Linked DNA regions of Homo sapiens: region 1 is linked to region 2. The links are contacts of gene promoters, found by promoter capture Hi-C in blood cells and fetal thymus (Javierre and others, 2016). All regions are on one chromosome and are shown on one strand. The core of a region is centred on a gene start or on the middle of the fragment in contact, and the rest is flanking DNA. Distances in the headings are between cores, read along the strand shown.

Evidence for each region. Contacts are between HindIII fragments. The CHiCAGO score rates a contact against its expected background, and 5 or more counts as called.
Region 1: a fragment that was not itself captured here is called in contact with the fragment with the promoter of CTDSP2-AS1 in region 2 in 1 of 17 cell types (M2 macrophages); the score reaches 7.6 in M2 macrophages.

What each region holds. Positions count from the first base shown.
Region 1 is chr12:62,605,740-62,608,439 of GRCh38, reverse strand. All of the region lies in intron 1 of MIRLET7IHG (MIRLET7I host gene), which reads right to left. Among named protein-coding and RNA genes, the nearest start is that of MIRLET7I, 3.4 kb to the right of the region's middle. The HindIII fragment of the contact is 2,073 bases long and covers 290-2,362 here.
Region 2 is chr12:57,835,663-57,838,362 of GRCh38, reverse strand. CTDSP2-AS1 (CTDSP2 antisense RNA 1) reads right to left here and starts at 1,272. Exons shown (of 2, transcript NR_188077.1): 1 at 1,149-1,272. The region is part of intron 1 of CTDSP2 (CTD small phosphatase 2); the gene reads left to right. RefSeq lists enhancers at 1-12, 73-182, 1-383, 973-1,042. The HindIII fragment of the contact is 9,495 bases long and covers 1-2,700 here.

The sequences.
Region 1 (2,700 bases), core at 77-2,576, 4.8 Mb before region 2:
ACAACTGGAATATCAATAGTGGTTTTGGAGCAAGGGCTCTAGAACAGGTGTATGAGTGGAACTCAGGTTTGAAAACAACTCAGGTGGCCCATGGATTGTCCTCACTACATGTCTGTAATTATTATTATAGGGAAATGTATTCCTTTTACAATGTGAATTCCATAATGTGGAGTTGGTTTTTTTGTGTTTGTTTTTGTTTTATCTTCTGTATATTCCCAGCACCTGACATAGAGCAGGTATCCGATTCACCTGTTGAATTTATCTGGAACTTATTTATTCTGTATAAGCTTCATTCACTACAAAAAGAAATGAATGGCAGATAGGATTCTTATTCTTAGGTTTTTCGTCCGAACTCTTAAAAAGTATGTAAATTTGTTTTTAAAACAGAAAAATATACTTTAATTTGCTTATGTATCTGTTTTTAGAGTTTAGTCAACTCTTTCGGCCATCTATTACGGTAACATTAAGTCAGTGTTACTATTATGACTAAAACTAGCCCATGCCTGTATCTACATAATACTTCTGTTTAACAAGGGCTTTAAAATACACTATGTGCAGAATATTAAAACAGCAATCTCTGAATCTTAATACCTTTTTGGTAGTTATGTTCAAAGTGAGATAAAACACCCGTTAATTGTTTATTACTCAACCTAAGAGCAGTTAAGGGATTTTTCAGGTATAACAGAAAACACATTACAACTACATATATGATCTAAACTGTCAATGTCTGTGGACAGTTTTTAGTCCTTAATTTACTTGAATTTTCTGTGACATATCACACAGCTTGGCTTTCTGCGAACTCCTGACTTCCATGATAAAATACTCTCAATTATATTATAATGGAACTAACGGAATTTGTAAACCTGATTCGAAGAAAATAATATTTTCTGTAAGTGTTGTTTGATGTTGAATAAGAGGAAAGAACTAGGAACTTATCCTTAAAAACACAAGATTGTGTCTTAGGTTTGTTCATATTTGATATAACTAAAAGACTAAAGTTACACTATCGGGTGTCAATAGTATGCCTTTAAAGGACCCTATTCACAAATTTAGTGGCCAAAAATCCTGTGTAGGCACAATTCCATTACATCTGAACAAAACAGCACTTTTAAAGAAAGGTAAATGTAAAACAAATTTAACCAAAAAAAAAATTTTCAACTTGAGATAAGAAAACACATAAATTCCATGTAGAACTGCTAATATTTCTTTTAATTCTGATGACACTCCCAGCGTATTTGTAGCAGATAATATGAAACTAAACTGTAAATCACCTAGAGTATCATTATCACTGCGATTGTCATCTCCAAGATCTCAGGCAACAAACCTAACCAAAAGAACTCCCTAAATTACTATACTATTTGAAGTGTTCCATACTTCCCTTCCCCCTTAGCTCATTCAATCACTTTTCTGCCAGGTCTCAAAAGTGAAGTAGGTCACTAATGTTTTTCTCACCTGCCCACATTTTGATTATTTATTTAATTTCTTGAGACAGAATCTCAACTATTTTGTCCAGGCAGGTCTCAAACTACTGGGCTCCAGTGACTCTCCTGCCTCAGCCTCCAGAGTACCTGGGATTATAGGTGCACATCACTGCACTGAGCTCACATTGATTTTTTTTTTTTTTTGACAGTCTCACTCTGTTGCCCAGGCTGCAGTGGTGCAATCATGGCTCACTGCAGCCTCAAAGTCCTGGGCTCATGAGATCCTCCCACCTCAGCGGGGACTACAGGCAGGCACCACCACACTCAGCTAATTACATTTTGATTCTTAAACACTTCATGTGACATCTTTCCTGTTTTCCTTTGGGGCAATGACCTAGCTATACAATTATTTTGCTTTCCCCATGGTGCCCAATAGTGATAACCTAACAAAAACACTTAGTGAACTTCATTAGACAATCTTAGAAATAATTTTCAAATTTTTGCTTAATTATCTAGATTATCAGTAGCGCCAACAGCTTTTCAGAGTTTATGACAATGGTCATTAATTCTCCTTTTGGGTACTACCAATCTGGCCTAATTCATTTTCGAAGATGATTGTCCTATTTACCTTTTGTTGTAGAAATTACAGAGGGGATTATTCAGTGGGAAAGGAAATTAATAGTATCTCCTTTGTCAGCTTCACCATGGAGCGGGTGGAGTGTAATAAACAATAGCGGGAGAGAGCATGTAGCTAGGAAGAAATCTCAGCCTTTTTGGTGCTTTGTGCTTATACACTGAAGAGCTAATTTGTGCTGTCAGGTGCCTCTGTCAGGAATTCTTTGGGGACCACTCCACAAGACACAATGTCTTGAGTGCACCCTTGCCAGTCAGTCTTGCCTACCTGCCAAAAGGTTATTTTAAAATAGCTTGTAAACAAAGCTTTTCTATGTAAGATTAGCAATCAGGAATTTTAAAGTATGAAGCAAAACTGTGTTCTCCAAGAATCTTCTCCATATGGTGTGTCCTATATACCATAACACAGTCTCCATTTCCAATTGAGGATGACATTTATTAAAATGTTATTACCATAACCCAGCTTTCCTTTGGTTTAGTATGTACTTATTGAGAAGGGCACTCAAAATACTGCCTTATTACTTTCCACCAGTGGCTTTTTACAACTACAAATTACTTAAATGCTTGACAACAGACCTTTAACAAAAAAGTTAACTGCACCAAGTAAATGTCAATAATACTAAGTTCAGAAAGCTGTATTTTTGAT
Region 2 (2,700 bases), core at 23-2,522:
GGTGCTACATAGGGCAGGGTCTCCTGCTGAGGCAGGGGCAGGATCCAGTCCTTTGAGTTTTCTTGGATGGCATCTCAGGCTTGTCCCTGCTGCCCTGTGGGCTATTAGATCACTTCCTGACATCCCTCAAGAGTCCTCTGGAGTGGGGCTTGCAGGGCTGAGCCTGCAGCTGACTTGTCTATGAGGAAACGCCTCCTCTGTCTCTGGTCCAGGATCTGCTACTTATGGAGGCCCACCCCAACCCAGCACGTTTTTAAAGTACGTTGGAGCTGCCCAGGAGGGTGTTTTGGCAATACCTCCTTTAGAGGCTGATTCTGAAATCAGCGTGCTTTAGAACTGCCAGAAATCCCCTGCTCCCAAAACTGAGTCCTCTTACCTCTCTAGCTGAGGTCAGAGAACAGATTGCTGAAGGGGCAGAGACAAGAAAGTGTGTGACCTGTGACCCTCGCCCCACAGGTGGCATTAAGGACTCAGGTCTGAAAGAAGAGACAGCCATATAGGGAGCTCTCCTGCCCAGGGAAAGGGAACTAATGGAGACACTGGCTTAGGTAGAGCTGCCCCAGTTGCTGGTGCAGAGAGGGCACCAGCATACAACATGCTGGTATGGGCCAAACAGCATGGCTAAAACTGCTTTTTAATTTTTTAAATTTTATTTATTTATTTATTTATTTTGAGACAGAGTTTTGCTCTGTCCCCCAGGCTGGAGTGCAATGGTGTGATCTCGGCTCACTGCAACCTCCACCTCTTGGATTCAAGTGATTCTCGTGCCTCAGCCTCCGGAGTAGCTGGGATTACAGGAGCTCACTACCATACCCTGCTAATTTTTGCATTTTTAGTAAAGATGGGGTTTCACCATATTGGTCATGCTGGTCTCGAACTTCTGACCTTAAGTGATCCCCACTGCCTTTGCCCCCCAAAGTGTTAAAACTGCTTTTTTCAAAAAATGCCCATGCAGTTAGATACACAGCTACTTTTTGGAACTTCGGGAGCCGGTGCTAAGCTGGGTCCGGCCCTGCCTTGCTTGTTAGCTGTAGAGAACAGTGTCAGTGGCCAGGCATGAAAGCAGTACACCCTCCCCATTGTTTGCAGTCTTTTGTGTGTGGGGGCTGTCTAGGCATCTCACCCTCTTTTGTTCCCTGCCGACTCACCTGCTGGTCCCAGGAGCTCTTCCGTCCACCTGGCACTTTAGGGCATGTCCATAGCCAAGGAACAGATGCCCCTTGCAGAGGACCTGGGAGGACTTCTCTCCATGGGGGAGTCCCAGTCAAATGTGTCTTGGCTGCAGGGTTCAGGCAGCCGTCCAAGAAGGGCCGGAAATGCTCCAAATACTCTCCTTCCTCCAATAGCTGAGAGGAAGGAGGCCCCTCAGAGGGGCCATTTTATAGTGATAGCCAGGCTAAGGCTAAGTCCTTTGCTGTGGGGGATGGGAGGTGGTGGGGAAGGAAGTACTTCTGGGGATGAACCAAAAAAGAAAGCAACTTTCTACCTGAATGGGCTTGTTAAAATCTGATTGTCTCAGAGGTTACCTTCTGCTGAATCGCAGGCAGATGTGTGAGGAGTTCCTTTGCTGGGACACAAAGCTGTGTTGTTGACAAAAGTGGTATCTGGACCTGACTTTCAGGAGAAGATTAAAAACAGTGTTGCCCTGGTCACTCTGGTCTTCGTTTGTGTGTATGTGTGCACGTGTTCACGTGTTTGTACATGTACACTTTTTTTTTTTAAAGACAAAATCTCACTCTGTCACCCAGGCTGGAGTGCAGTGGTGCAATCACGGCTTACCGCAGCCTCAAACTCCTGGGCTCCGGTGATTCTCCCACTTCAGCCTGCCAAGCTGGGACTGCAGGTGCACCTGGCTAATTTTTTTTTGGTAGAACAGGATTTTGCCATGTTGCTCAGGCTGGTCTTGAACTCCTGAGCTGCAGTGATCCAACCGGCCCAGCTTCCCAAAGTGCTGGGATTACAGGCTTGAGCCACCTACCCCGGCCCATGCATAGGGGCAAATAGTGTCCTTACCTGGTACTTCTTGAGAGTAGTGGGGATGAATACCAGGGGAGACAGCGATTTTTGTCTCAAGTGAAACAGTCTTACTTGCTTTTGTTTTTCACAGAATACCCAGTCAGGGAGTTTGTGAGCTGGAAAACAAATTTTGTTGTGGACTTGGGAGAAGGTATAGGGGCTATTTTGACTTTCTGAAACCTGCTCATGATCAGAGCTCTCAGGCACCTTTCCCTCATCTTCTTGGGCTTCATCCACGTGATGATGGTGGGAGGGCTCCTGGTCTGTTGCTGGCCTCCTGGAATGAGGCCCATGATGTTGCCATTTAGTGGTCATCTCCCCTTGGATAATTAATTAAAACAAGCGCAGCATTTAGCTTTAGAGTTAGCACAGTGCCTTACTCTCTAACTTCGTTTATCCTTTCAGTCCTGAGTGAGGGCTTGCTGTTATCCCAGTTTATGGATGAGGAAACTAAGGCTCCAAAAGGCTGTGTGGCTGAGTCAGTAACTGGCAGAGCCTGGACCCCAGCCCTGATGATCCTCAGTGGGGGCATACTCCTCACATCCCCTCTTCTCCTCACACCCCGCCTCAGTAGGAAGACTCGCAGCAGTGAGCTGGATGGCTGGCCTGGTTTCCCTGTCTTCAGCCACCAGCTCACTTTCTTCTTAAGCCAGAGCTGCTTCCCTCATTGGGTCTGTGCTAGTC